Regions from separate parts of the Homo sapiens genome. Here regions 1, 2, 3 and 4 are each linked to region 5. The links are contacts of gene promoters, found by promoter capture Hi-C in human tissues and cell types (Jung and others, 2019). All regions are on one chromosome and are shown on one strand. The core of a region is centred on a gene start or on the middle of the fragment in contact, and the rest is flanking DNA. Distances in the headings are between cores, read along the strand shown. Region 1 overlaps SBNO1 (strawberry notch homolog 1). Region 2 overlaps SBNO1 (strawberry notch homolog 1). Region 3 overlaps MTRFR (mitochondrial translation release factor in rescue). Region 4 holds the start of SNRNP35 (small nuclear ribonucleoprotein U11/U12 subunit 35). Region 5 holds the start of OGFOD2 (2-oxoglutarate and iron dependent oxygenase domain containing 2).

Region 1 (2,700 bases), core at 3-2,502, 330 kb after region 5:
ATGGAGTCTCGCTCTGTCCCCCAGGCTGGAGTGCAATGGCGCAATTTTGACTCACTGCAACTTCCACCTTCCGGGTTCAAGCGATTCTCCTGCCTCAGCCTCCCAAGTAGCTGGGATTACAGGTGCCTGCCATCACACCGGCTAATTGTTTTGTATTTTTAGTAGAGATGGGGTTTCACCATGTTGGCCAGGATGGTCTTGAACTCCTGACCTCAGGTGATCCGCCCACCTCAGCCTCCCAAAGTGCTGGGATTACAGGCGTGAGCCACCACACCCAGCCGTGAAAAAGCAAGTTCTAATATGAAGGATAACTGTTAAGGTCATGCTGCCAGACAACAGTTGGCTGGAAATAAGAAAGCATCAGTGAAGAGTAAGGAGGTACATAAACTAAACAGTTTCTAGTCTACAACTGTCCAGTAAATATTCCTGATGGAACACACCACGCCTGACAATACTTAATCTGTTAGTTAATTCATGAGGACATACTGATAAAGAGTGAAGGTGTATTTAAATCTCAATTAAATTTTGGAAAATTTGGTAGGAAACACGAAAATACTAACCAATAAGCATGAGTACAAGTATCTGCAGATGAATTATACTGATCTAACCAGTGCATCAGGGCATCATCTGAGACGACCTGTAAAAATGAGAAGAATTTCATTGAAAACAGTATTGCTTTAAATAAACTGGTTACCTAGTCTGGTCTGTAATTCTAGAGGTAGCCAATTTAAAATAATCTCTACACAAAAAGCCTAACCCTTGCTATTAACTGAATCTGAACGCCATTTGAAAAGCTCTGTCATGCTGGTTCCTCTTATGTAATACATTTTTCAAATAACTACTTAACTATAATTGTTTTCAAATCAGAATGGCTACAAATAATAATATAAGGTAATATTAATAAAATAAAACCTAATAGTAAATGTTAGGAAAAGTGGTCGCTTAACATTTTCTATAAATCATTGCAAAATATAAACATAGAGGCATCCTCACAATAAAACTAAGAGGTAGTGAGAAGGGCTTTAAACATTCTAACTTTTGTGATTAGCACTGGAAGCTTCCTTTACTGAAGAGATAAGCTGTTTCAAATAATCATTTTAGGCTGGGCACGGTGGCTCATGCCTATAATCCCAGCACTTTGGGAGGCTGAGGCGGGTGGATCACTTAAGGCCAGGAGTTCAAGACCAGCCTGGCTAACATGGTGAAATTCCGTCTCTACTAAACATACAAAAAAAAACTAGCCAGGTGTGTGGCACATGCCTATAATCCCAGCTACTTGGGAAGCTGAGGCATGAGAATCACTTGAACCCGGGAGGCGGAGGTTACAGTGAGCCAAGATCGCGCCACTACACTCCCAGCCTGGGTAACAGAACCTTAGAAGTTTCTTAAGGCTGGTAACATTAAGACTGTGATATTAGCATAACAAAAGTTGACACTTTCCTTAAACCAGGCTGGGTGCGGTGGCTGACACCTGTTAATTCTAGCACTTTGGGAGGCAGAAGTGGACAATCACTTGAGCCCATGAGTTCCAGACCAGCTCAGCCTCTGCAACACAGTGAGACCTCATTTAAAAAAAAAGAAAGAAAGAAAAAGAAAATATAATTTCATACCTAGAAAAGCTATCTTAAACAATTTCAATATATTATAAAATAAGTATTCTTTTTTTTTTTTTTTTTTTTTTGAGACGGAGTCTTGCTCTGTCTCCCTGGCTGGAGTGCAGTGGTGCAATCTCGGCTTACTGCAAGCCTCCTCCACTTCACAGGTTAAAGTGATTCTCCTGCCTCAGCCTCCTGAGTAACTGGGATTACAGGCATGCAACACTACGCCTGGCTATCTTTTCTATCTTTAGTAGAGATGAGGTTTCGCCATATGGGCCAGGCTGGTCTCAAACTCCTGACCTCAGGTGATCCAACCGCCTTGGCCTCCCAAAGTACTAAGATTACAGGCGTGAGCCACTGTGCCCAGCTAAAGTAAGTATTCTTTTTTTTGAGACGAAGTTTCGCGCTTGTTGCCCGGGCTGGAGAGCAATAGCGTGATCTTGGCTCACTGCAACCTCCGCCTCCCGGGTTCAAGTGATTCTCCTACCTCGGCCTCCCAAGTGGCTGGAATTACAGGTATGCATCACCATCCTGGGATAATATTTTGCATTTTTAGTAGAGACGGGGTTTCTCCATGTTGGTCAGGCTGGTCTCGAACTCCTGACCTCAGGTGATCTGCCCACCTCGGCCTCCCAAAGTGCTGAGATTACAGGTGTGAGCCACATTGCCTGGCCCAAAGTAAGTATTCCTATATAATATAATGTACAAATGAAAAAATACCTTCTTATATTTCTTTTTTAGATCAGCATAAATTTCTAATTTGAGCTGCTTCCCAGTATTTGGTCGATAAACTAAGAAAAGTTTCTTTTTAGGATTCACTTCTTTAACTAAGATGGCAGTTTTCTTGTTGTTCCTTATCTGTTTAAAGAAAATGACAAAATATAAAGATTTTATAATACACACTTTAAGACATGTTTCTGTACCATCACGTCAGCAAACATAATCATTTGAGACTATAACACTAAGTAAGTACACGGTAACTTCAAAAAGGACCGAAAATGCTTGTTTAAAAGACTAACACAGTCACACCCAAGAGGCAGTTATTGGACCTTAATTCTGGCTAAAGATGAAGGTTAAAGACCAAAGTTATCTTCAGAAAACT
Region 2 (2,700 bases), core at 185-2,684, 360 kb after region 5:
TCTCAGTTCACTTCTATTTGCCTGCTTTCCCGCATATCCTAAAACCAAAACCCCAGAAGACTGGAGTTTATTTTAGAGGCCCTTATGAAGAACAGAAAAATTTACTTCAGACTTCTGTGTCTCCACAGATGCAATCGTGATCATATATAAGATGGCCATATAATTTATTTTCCAAACCCTGGCACATTTGAGTTGGGGAGCTATTGAGGATTACACTGAGAAAACAGAAGTAAACCCAGACTGTCCTCGGCAAACCAAGTGAATGGTCACCACGGTTATGCTTCCCTTTTCTTCCTCTACAGGATCTTAAAGGAATAAAGGAAGATCCGGAATAAGCCACTTTTCACTACCAGTACAATCATTAGGCAACTGTTTATTAGCATGCACTTGTTCAGGGAAGAATATAAAGAAACTGTTGTGAAACTCAGTATGCCAAGGGAAGAGGACAACAAAAACCTACAGGTTAAGGCAAATTAAGGCAAGATCGAGACAGCATTAAAAGTGAAGGACAGGCTCTTTTTTCATTTACCTCAGAATCTAGAGCAGAATATGGTTGCAAATAGATAACAAACGTGAAAAGGAAAAGAAGTGGGACATAACCATCCAATCAACATTAACCTATGGAGTCTTTAGATAAAATCTAAAAACTTGGAATGTTCTCAGAAATTATGCTAAAATAAAACTCAATTTCGGAAATTCGAGACAAAACAGGACTGGCCAAATGAATAGATTTGAATCCCAATTCTGCTGTTATTTAATTGTGTAGTCTGTTTTTTAATTTAGGCAAATTACCTAAATTCTGGGTCCTCTCCACCCCCACCGTCTAACCCTGTCCTCGCTTATAAAATAAAAATGTATTCTATGTTAAGATAAGCAGCCTCCTTTCTCCCTCCATCCTTTATTCTCCTACCTATAGTTTTTTAAAATCATCATAAAATTGATGATAATTGAATAACTGAAGGATAAGTTGGTAATACTGAAGGACCACTATATCCAGGGAACAAACAAGTAATACCTTGAAGCCAGGTGCATGTGAGATAGCAACTGACATCAAATTTAGGTCAAAGAGATAACTCGGGTGAGGGAGACCACGGTACCTGGGAAATGTTTGCCCAACATACCATGTAGATGTTCACTACACAACGCTGGGCAAATCTTCCTAGATGGGGAACGTGGGCCTGGGGTTGTCAGGTACTCCCATTTTTCAAAATAACCGGGAAATCAGGATTTGTATATGTCAGCAAACAAATTCAAAATTCTTCAAAATACCATGAAGGCCAAACAAAATACATTTGTCAGCCAGGCATGGTGGCTCACGCCTGTAATCCCAGCACTTGGGCAAGCAGGGGTGGGCGGATCACCTGAGGTCAGGAGTTCAAGACCAGCCTGGCCAACATGGCAAAACCCCGTCTCTACTAAAAAATACAGGCCAGGCACAGTGGCTCACGCCTGAAATCCCAGCACTTTGGGAGGCCGAGGCGGGTGAATCACGAGGTCAGGAGTTCAAGACCAGCCTGGCCAAGGTAGTGAAACCCCATCTCTATTAAAAAATACAAAAGAAAATTAGCAGGGCGTAGTGGCGGGCGCCTGTAATCCCAGCTACTTGGGAGGCTGAGGAAGAGAATTGCTTGAGCCCGGGAAGGGGAGGTTGCAGTGAGCCAAGACTGCACCAATGCACTCCAGCCTGTGACAGAGCGAGACTCCATCTCAAAATAAATAAACAAAATAAAAGAAACAAAAATTATCTGGGTGTGGTGGTGGTGGTGGGGGGCGCCTGTAATCCCAGCTGCTCAGGAGGCTGAGGCAGAAGAATCACTTGAACCTGGGAGGCAGAAGTTGCAGTGAGCTGAGATTGCACCACTGCCCTCCAGCCTGGGTGACAGCAAGACACCGTCTAAACACACACACACACACACCCCGACACACACACACACACACGCCCCCCCCCCCCTCCCCGACTAGTTTGGTTGATGGGCTATCAGTTTGCAGTCTCTCTGAGATGTTACTTAACTGCTAAGCCAATAAAAAACTTTTGGTATATAATGGACTGAAATGGAAATGTGAGAACCACATAAAACATTTCTTGAAGAAATATGCATTCTTAGTTTCCAAAAATCACCTTCCAAGTGCTGTTGGTAGACAATCACTAAGTAAACTGGGTACCGCCAGTAGCACTATTGTTCTCCTGGTTCCCATTCAAAACCTCAGCTACAGTTTGCTGCACTGTCTCCAATTCCATATTCTAGAACCAAGTCCCAAAATTCTTTTGGTATCGTTATGTACAGTCATCTCTTTTTTTCCTTTCCCCTCTCCGTTTTTCAATCCCCTCTGCAAGGTCTCTAGTACCCCTTCTTACTTCCCCCTTAGGTTAACCAACTTTCCAACCTCTCTCTTTTGCCTACTCCTACTCATCCCGAATCTGTCTTCCCTACCCCTTTACTCAGTCTGCACCCCAACTTCTCCTGAATCACTAACAGGTCCCTCCATGTCTACTGGCTCAATGGTGCTAGACTAAGTCCAAAGTCCTTCAAACTCAATTCAGCACAGGGCACCTTGGCCTCCCAGCACTTTGGGAGGCCGAGCTGGAGGGATCACTTGAGGTCAGGTATTCGAGACCAGCCTGGCCAATGTGGTAAAACCCCGTCTCTACTAAAAACACAAAAATTAGCCAGGGCTGGTGGTGGGCACCTGTAATCCCAC
Region 3 (2,700 bases), core at 168-2,667, 280 kb after region 5:
AATTGCGTGAACCTGGGAGGCGGAGGTTGCAGTGAGCTGAGATCGCGCCACTGCACTCAAGCCTGGGCAACACCTGGGTGACAGAGCGAGACCCCATCTCAAAAAAAAAATAAAACTAGTTCAAGTGCAATGACACACGCCTATAATCCCAGCACCTTGGGAGGCTAAGACAGGAAGATCACCTGAGCCCAGGAGCTCAAGATTGCAGTGAGCTATGAACACCACTGCACTCCACCTGTCCACTTGTTCTTGTGTGACAGAACAAGACCCTGTCTCTAAAAAATAAGATAAAACCATAAAGAAACACAGTCAGTACTATACAAGAATAATGGCTACTTCTAGAGGGAAGGAGTTGTCATTGTGATGAGGCACTTGGAGGGGTTCTGGGGTGCCTGACAAAGTTCTGTTTCTTCACCTGGGTGGTAGTTAGAAGGGTGTCCCCGTATTTCAAATTGTACCTTTGTGAGATTGTATGTTTTGTAATAATAAAATTTTTTTTGTAATTAGTAAAGTCAATTTTTATGGAGAACTGGAGAATGGAGTCAAACATTAATAGCATTTCTTGGCAACTTGCCATCTGCTGGGAAGCTGCTGCCCAGTGACACTTAAAAGTCAGTTATCCCCATGTCAGCTCAAGACAGTAAGAGAAAACAAGGGCCGGGCATGGTGGCTCACGCCTGTAATCCCAGCACTTTGGGAGGCTGGGGCAGGCGGATCATGGAAGTCAGGAGTTTGAGACCAGCCTGACCAACATGGTGAAACCCCATCTCTACTAAAAATACAAAAATTAGCCAGGCGTGGCAGCACACGCTTGTAATCCCAGCTACTTGGGAGGCTGAGGCAAGAGAATTGCTTGAATCTGGGAGGCGAGGTTGCAGTGAGCCAAGATTGCGCCATTGCACTCCAGCGTGAGCAACAGAGCAAGACTGTCTAAAAAAAAAAAAAAAAAGAGAGAAAATAAGAGGGTTGGAAGAGCTAAAGGCTCTGTTCCTTGTCCATGTGCTCTATTAGCTTCTAGGCTGTATGATGCCCAGTTGTGCCTCTGATGTAGAAACAAACACATTCCCTGCACGTTGATTTGCAAGATTTGTAAAGGTGAGGTTCCAGAATCTGATTTGCTTGTAAATTTACGTCACTTAAGCTGGATTTTACCTTACAGTTGTTTTTCTTTTAAAGCCATGCTTTATAGCTTGGCTTGTTAGAACTCTTCTGGAGTCCACGTAGAAAACAAATAGGGAAAAATGCTGAGAGGTGAGAAAGCCATTGGGAGATTGCCAGTTGCAGGGCCTCAGTTGTGCAGTCTGTCCAGCAGGCCTAGGCGGCATGTCCAGTAGGCCTAGGTGGCATGTCCAGTGCATACATCCAAGCACACCTTTCTCTTTGAGGCTGCCAATGAAGGCTCTTCTCACCTCAGTGACAGCTTTGGATGCTTACACATTCAATGCAGGGCTCATTCTACACCTCCTGTTGCGAGTGTACAGGACCCTTCCCCAGCCCAAACGCCCTGTAGAAAATAAAGGCTCTAGAACAACACCTAAGAAACCAGTAAGAGTGGGAGGGGAAATTTGGAGCTGGAGATAAGGGAGAATGGTTTCCGTTTGTCTCCTCTCTCATACCTTTGCAACTTTCTGCCACATGCAGGAAGGGGACACAGCACCCATTTCGCTAGAGCCTGTTCCTGCTGGCCTTCAGCCTTGTCATGGCTGAGAATTCGCCTCATGCCTGCATCAAAGAAAGACAAGTCTCTCTCATTTGTCTTTGTCTACTGCTCAGCAAAGCAAATTCTCATTGCAGGTATTTAGGGCCTAAGGTATAGAGTAAGAATTAAAATCCCTTTGGGAGGCACTGTCAGAGACCACCACGTGGACTCTCAACACATCCAGTGCAGCCCATTTTTTCCCTGGCACCAGAGCAGATAATTCTTCCAGTGAGCACCATATGAAGTAGCTTGAAGTTAGGAGCCGTACTTTATGAAAAAGATTCCTGTAGCACCCACCAAAAGCCCACAGGATAAGCACCTACGAACTGAGAATGGCCTAACCATGGGGTAACAGGCCAACTCAATAATACTGCTTCTGGCCGGGCGTGGTGGCTCACGCCTGTAAACCCAGCACTTTGGGAGGCCAAGGCGGCTGGGTCACCTGAGGTCAGAAGTTGGAGACCAGCCTGACCAACATGGTAAAATCCCATCTCTACTAAAAATACAAAAATTAGCTGGGTGTGGTGGCACGCTCCTGTAATCCAGCTACTCGGGAGGCTAAGCTGGGAAAATCGCTTGAACCTGGGAGGCAGAGATTGCAGTGAACCAACATCAAGCCACTGCACTCTAGCCTAGGCAACAGAGGGAGATTCCATCTAAAAAAAAAAAAATTTTTTTTTTAAAAACTGCTGCTGCTATTTTTTTTTCCTAGCATACACTTAAGTTTGCTGCACTTAAAATACACCCATAATGCAACTTCACTTTATCCCTACCTCTGACTTAGCAAACACATTCTTTCCCCAGCCAACTGTGCTAATGATATCACCAAAATGTTTCCGTGTCAGATGGGAAAATACAGTTTGAACAGGCATCTCCTACCTCTTGTAAAAGGTAAAGTAGAGGTTCCTCTCCAAAGACTTTCCTCCCCATTTAATTTGGAATAAACGGTAACTTCTCTTCGAAGCAAAATTTATTCAAAGACCTGTGCTAACATTCCTAAT
Region 4 (2,700 bases), core at 119-2,618, 480 kb after region 5:
GTGTGTGTGTGTGTGTGTTTAAAAGCATAGGGGTCAGCCAGGTGTGGTGGCTCACGCCTGTAATCCCAGCACTTTGGGAGGCCAAGGCAGGCAGATCACTTGAGATCGGGAGTTCAAGACCAGCCTGACCAACATGGAGAAACCCCATCTCTACTAAAAATACAAAATTAGCCGGGCATGGTGGCACATGCCTGTAATCCCAGCTACTCGGAAGGCTGTCAGGAGAATTGCTTGAACCTGGGAGGCGGAGGTTGCGGTCAGCCGAGATCGTGCCATTGCACTCCAATATGGGCAACAAGAGTGAAACTCTGTCTCAAACAAAACAAAACAAAAACAAACAAACAAACAACAACATAGGGGTCTTGCTCTGTTGCCCAGGCTGACAGGCTGAACTTGAACTCCTGGCCTCAAGCCTCACGACTCAGCCTCCCTAGTAGCTGAAACTGCAGATGGCCTCCACTGACAGTGGCTACCATATATTTTCAAACATAAAATTTTAAGCTATAGATTTTTCTTTTTTTTGAGACGGACTTTCACTCTTGTTGTTCAGGCTGGAGTGCAATGGCACCATCTCAGTTCATCGAAACCTCTGCCTCCCGGGTTCAAGTGATTCTCCTGCCTCAGCCTCCTGAGTGGCTGGGATTACAGGCACATGACACCATGTCCAGCTAATTTTGTATTTTTAGTAGAGAAGGGGTTTCTCCATGTTGCTCAGGCTGGTCTCGAACTCCGAACCTCAGGTGATCCGCCCGCCTCGGCCTCCCGAAGTGCTGGGATTACAGGCGTGAGGCATGCCACCTGGCCTTTTTTTTTTTTTTTTTTTTTATAAAGAAATTGGGGCCGGGCGCGATGGCTCACGCCTGTAATCCCAGCACTTTGGGAGGCCGAGGCGGGCGGATCACTTGAGGTCAGAAGTTCGAGACCAGCCTGGCCAACATGGCAAAACCCTGTCTCTACTAAAAATACAAAAAATAGCCGGGCGTGGTGGCGGGCGCCAGTAATCCCAGCTACGCGGGAGGCTGAGGCAGGAAAATCACTTGAACCCGGGAGGCGGAGGTTGCAGTGAGCCGAGTTCGCACCACTGCACTCCAGCCTGGGCGACAGAGGGAGTCTCCGTCTCAAGAAAAAATAATAAATAAGAATAAATAAATAATAAAGTAAAATGTCCCAGGTAACTGCATATTCGATAGTCTTTCTTTCAACTTAGTTGTTGAATTAGCAATTTTTCTCTTAAAAAAATTTTTTTTTAGCTTATTGTCTTCGGAGATGATAACACCCTCGTTGCGTGGGAGTAAAATTTTAAAGGTAAAACAAACAGGAAACGAGCGTCGGCGGCGAATCTGCTGCTACCAATGTAAAGGTCAGGCCGAGGCCGGCGCGGAGAATCTGCTGTCGCCTGCAGCTGCTCGCCTGTCTCCGTCGGAAGGGAGCCCAAGCTTTGCAGAGGTGAGTGGAAGCGGCTTGGAAGGAGCGGGCCCCACGCCGGAGAGAAGGAAGAGGGAGTGCGGCCCAGACGCTGTGCCCGCGCTTGTGTGGGGCGCCATGTTGAAACCTGGCAAAGGGGACGACATTCTGGGTTGCGTTGCGGGGAGTGGGGACGAGAGCTGGATTGGAAGGATGGCGCCTTACTCCCTGCGGCCCCCAGAGAAGGAGAGGGGCGGGGGAGCGGCCTCGAGGGTTGGCGGCCAGGCTGCAGGCTGGATGGGAAGGATAGGCTTTTCCACAGAAACTTAGGTGTTTGCCTCCGAGGCCCACTGCGCATGCCCTGGAGGGCTCTGTGGGTTCCGCCTTCAGTTTTGCTTTTCACAGGAGGGGCAAAGTCTTTTTTTTTTTTTTTTCCTTTTTGAGACAGTCTTGCTCTGTCGCCCGGGCTGGAGTGCAGTGGTGCGATCTCGGTTCACTGCAACCTCCGCCTCCTGGGTTCAAGCGATTCCACTGCCTCAGCTTCCCGAGTAGCTGAGACTACAGGCGCCCGCCACCACGCCCTGCTAATTTTTTGTATTTTACTGGAGACGGGGTTTCACCATGTTAGCCAGGATGGTCTCGATCTCCTGTCCTCGTGATCCACCCGCCTCGGCCTCCCAAAGTGCTGGGATTACAGCCGTCAGCCACCGTGCCCGGCCAGGAGGGGCAGAGTCTTACCCCGAAGACCCAGGAAGGAGAGGCTTCATTTATTTTTTTGTTTTTCCCCAGAGACAGGGAGTCGCCCAGGCTGGAGAGCGGTGGCGCGATCTCGGCTCACTGCAGCGTCGACATTTCGGGTCAAGCAGTCCTCCCGCCTCAGCCTCTCAAGTATCTGGGACCACAGGCGCGACCCCACGCCCGGAGAATTGATTATTGATTGATTGATTGAAACGGGGTCTCACTTTGTTGCCCAGGCTGGTCTCGAATTTCTGGGCTCAAGCGATCCTCCAGCCTCGGCCTCTCAAAGTGCTGGTATTACAGGCGTGAGCCAGCGCGTGCCTGGCCAAAAATTTTCTAAATTTGTATAATAATTTATAATTGTAATGCATTTTTATAGACACCATATGATCTAATCTTCACAAAAACCTAGTGAAGTGACATTTAGCTACATTTCACAATAAGAATCCTGAAGCTCAAAATTTACTGACCTCAAATAATCCACCCGCCTTGGCCTCCCAAAGTGCTGGGATTACAGGCATGAGCCACCGCGCCCTGGCCCCCACCATTCATTTCGGC
Region 5 (2,700 bases), core at 61-2,560:
ATTCGGGAGGCTGAGGCAGGAAAACTGCTTGAATCCGGGAGGCAGAGGTTGCAGTGAGCGGAGATCGCGCCACTGCACTCCAGCCTGGGTGAAACTCTATCTCAAAAAGTAAATAAACAAATAAATAAACTGATAGGTACAACACACTCATCTTGCAAACTGCTGCAAACGGAGAGGGGGTGAGGGTGGGGTGGGGTGCTGCATGTGCCAGGCCTGCCTGGTGGGTGGCTGGGGAGCCGACCTGCCCTGGGCCTCCTGGGGAAAAAGGGCAGTTAGGCGGGTAATGAACATTGATCTGGGGAAATGGATCCTTTCCTAGATAGCAGGGCCTCTCACTATCACTGGGCAATCAAGACGACTGTAAAACGTTAAACACCTTCTCGGGCCGGGCAGCTCTGCACGAGAAAACCCCAAATCCCACATACTTCCACCACTCCCAGAAGCCCTGTGGTGGTTAACTGGGGAACTCTGTAGGGTTCAAACGCCATATTTGCCCCTTACTGGATGTGTGACCTGCGGCGGGTCCCTGTGCCTCTCTGGGTCTCAGTTTCCTCATCTGTAAGACGGTGATATAATAGTACCTAGCTCAAAGGTTTAATGCTGGTAGATTCCTGAGCAAAGGTCCGGGGAGAGAAGAGGCTCGGTCTGCAAGAGTTGTCATTTGTTGGCTGCGGTGAGACCACGCCCCGTCGCCCTCCCACACCTGACCCCGCCCTCCCGCGTCCATTGGGAACGCCACCGGAAGTAATGCGAGACGGAGCGTTTTGGTGGAGACACTCACTGGGGCAATCTGAGGTAATCCAACAGACTGTGGCGGAGGGACCGGAAGCGCCAGGCAGGGACCCGGGGTAGATGCTAAATCCAAACTGAAACGTACAGGGCTGGATGATTGAAGCACCAGCGGGAACTAGTCGGACCTCCGAGCTCTTTAAACTGTCCTCAGCTCGGCTGGTTCTCCACGAGCTCCGGGCAGACGGCGGGGGGTGGGTCGGCGTTTAAGTCAAAGGCCTTGGGGCTCCGAGTCCCTTCCTCTCCCCGTCCTGTGAAGGCACGACCCAGTTCAGCTGTCTGTAAAGTGGAGCCATTAGTCCCTGCCTCGTAGTGGGAAAACTGGGAGGCGGAACGAGGAGGCCGCCGGTCCCAACCCGGCCCAGGAGCATCTTTCTCCGCAGACCGTTTCCTGGCGAGGTGCGTCTTCGTCCTTTTCCGCCCTTGGGAACTTAGAGCGGCCCCTTGGCCGCTGGTTCCGCGCCTCCCGCGGTTGGGGGCGTGCCCGAAGTCTCTCTACGGAAGCTGGTAGGGCTGTGGGTGCTTCACTATGGCGACGGTGGGGGCTCCGCGGCACTTCTGCCGCTGCGCCTGCTTCTGCACCGATAACTTGTACGTGGCGCGCTATGGGCTGCACGTGCGCTTCCGAGGCGAGCAGCAGCTGCGCCGGGACTACGGCCCGGTGAGTGGCCGCTGTCGTCCCTACGGAGCAGTGGGCAGAGAGGGGTAGTGGAGGAGGGAAGTTCGTCCCCAGGGTCGTTTGCTTTGCGCACGCCGCGCACCGTATCTTCAAATACAAGAATGACGGCCTCTCTCTGCCTCGGTTTTCTCACCGTAAAGGGGTAATAGTATCTCCCTGTGAGATTGTGAGGAAGGAATGAACAAGCATGTAGGGTGCTTAGGACAGGGCCGGGCTCAGCTTGCCGCCTCACAGCAACACCAGCCCGGAGCCCTGTCCTGAGCTTGACAGGGTTCCGCAGTTCATTCTCTCCATGATCCTTTGAGGTCGGGGCTCCTCTCCCCATTTTAAGCAGGGGAAACTGAGGCTTAGAGAGTGAAGGGATTTCCTCAGGTCATACAGTCATGCTCAGTGTTCTTTCTGCTCCCAGATCCTGCGCAGCCGAGGCTGTGTTAGCGCCAAGGACTTCCAGCAGCTGTTAGCAGAGGTACCAGTCCCCTGCCCCTGCACAGCTCCTCCTCGTTAGATTTGTGTCCGCAGCTTGAGGACACAGCTTGAGCCTAGCCTCAGTCCCTGATCCCTGAAGGGTCACTTAGGCCCTCACTTTCCTCCTTCCTGCCCCCCACTCATCCCTCCACACCTGAGTCTTGGCACCAGGAGAGAGAAGGGGAAATGCTAAGTTGCTAAGTTGCCTAGTCATGCCGTTCTTAACAGCTCTGTGAGATAAGCACAAGCACCACTCTCATTTTGGATTGAGAAGCTGAGGCTTAAAGAGGGATCCCTTGCCCAAGCTTTTACAGCAGGAGCAGATGTGATCCCAGCCACAGCTTCCAGGCCCCTGGGCTCCTCACACCTTACCATATACCCCGCAGGCTGCTGCCAGGGCTGCTGCCCCACTCCCTCCTCCTCCTTCCCCTGGAGTCAGTGGTGGGAAGCTTCCCAGGAGAGTCCTCAGCAACCTCTGGAACACAGGACTTGGCCATGACTGTCTCCTGTCCCTGTGTGGGCCCAGATGGTTGAGGTACATCTAGGGGTTCTCATCCCAGCTAGGCTCAGGTTGGGGCAGCCTGAAACAGGATGGGTCCCCTTCTAGAAGTCCCTTTCAGCTAACAGTCTGGAACTTGCAGTTGACCCAGATAGATTCAGGAGTGTAGGCTAGACTTGGCTTCCAGCCTGGGCCCTGTCTGGCGTTCTGGGCTTCAGTTTCTTCATCTGTACAGTGGCCTCAGGAGGATGGGAGGCCCCACCTGGTA

The links. Contacts are between HindIII fragments. The study calls those that stand out against the background at their distance.
Region 1: a fragment that was not itself captured here is called in contact with the fragment with the promoter of OGFOD2 in region 5 in 1 of the 25 tissues and cell types used here (IMR-90 fibroblasts).
Region 2: a contact is called between a fragment that was not itself captured here and the fragment with the promoter of OGFOD2 in region 5, in 3 of the 25 tissues and cell types used here (liver, lymphoblastoid cells and pancreas).
Region 3: a contact is called between a fragment that was not itself captured here and the fragment with the promoter of OGFOD2 in region 5, in 2 of the 25 tissues and cell types used here (aorta and dorsolateral prefrontal cortex).
Region 4: the fragment with the promoter of SNRNP35 here is called in contact with the fragment with the promoter of OGFOD2 in region 5 in 1 of the 25 tissues and cell types used here (lymphoblastoid cells).

The regions. Positions count from the first base shown.
Region 1 is chr12:123,302,264-123,304,963 of GRCh38, forward strand. It overlaps SBNO1 (strawberry notch homolog 1), which reads right to left. Exons shown (of 32, transcript NM_001167856.3): 29 at 2,319-2,456; 30 at 561-637. Among named protein-coding and RNA genes, the nearest start is that of CDK2AP1, 32 kb to the left of the region's middle. The HindIII fragment of the contact is 7,141 bases long and covers 1-2,700 here.
Region 2 is chr12:123,336,974-123,339,673 of GRCh38, forward strand. The region is part of intron 5 of SBNO1 (strawberry notch homolog 1); the gene reads right to left. Among named protein-coding and RNA genes, the nearest start is that of MIR8072, 27 kb to the right of the region's middle. The HindIII fragment of the contact is 4,997 bases long and covers 1-2,700 here.
Region 3 is chr12:123,257,427-123,260,126 of GRCh38, forward strand. It overlaps MTRFR (mitochondrial translation release factor in rescue), which reads left to right. Exons shown (of 3, transcript NM_152269.5): 3 at 1-534. Among named protein-coding and RNA genes, the nearest start is that of CDK2AP1, 13 kb to the right of the region's middle. The HindIII fragment of the contact is 6,691 bases long and covers 1-2,700 here.
Region 4 is chr12:123,456,771-123,459,470 of GRCh38, forward strand. It overlaps SNRNP35 (small nuclear ribonucleoprotein U11/U12 subunit 35), which reads left to right and starts at 1,369. Exons shown (of 2, transcript NM_022717.4): 1 at 1,369-1,446. RefSeq lists enhancers at 1,056-1,922, 1,597-1,676, 1,923-2,700. The HindIII fragment of the contact is 15,518 bases long and covers 1-2,700 here.
Region 5 is chr12:122,973,934-122,976,633 of GRCh38, forward strand. OGFOD2 (2-oxoglutarate and iron dependent oxygenase domain containing 2) reads left to right here and starts at 1,311. Exons shown (of 7, transcript NM_001304833.2): 1 at 1,311-1,450; 2 at 1,878-1,934. The coding sequence starts at 1,319. It also overlaps a transcript of ABCB9 not described here. RefSeq lists an enhancer at 756-1,215. The HindIII fragment of the contact is 12,569 bases long and covers 1-2,700 here.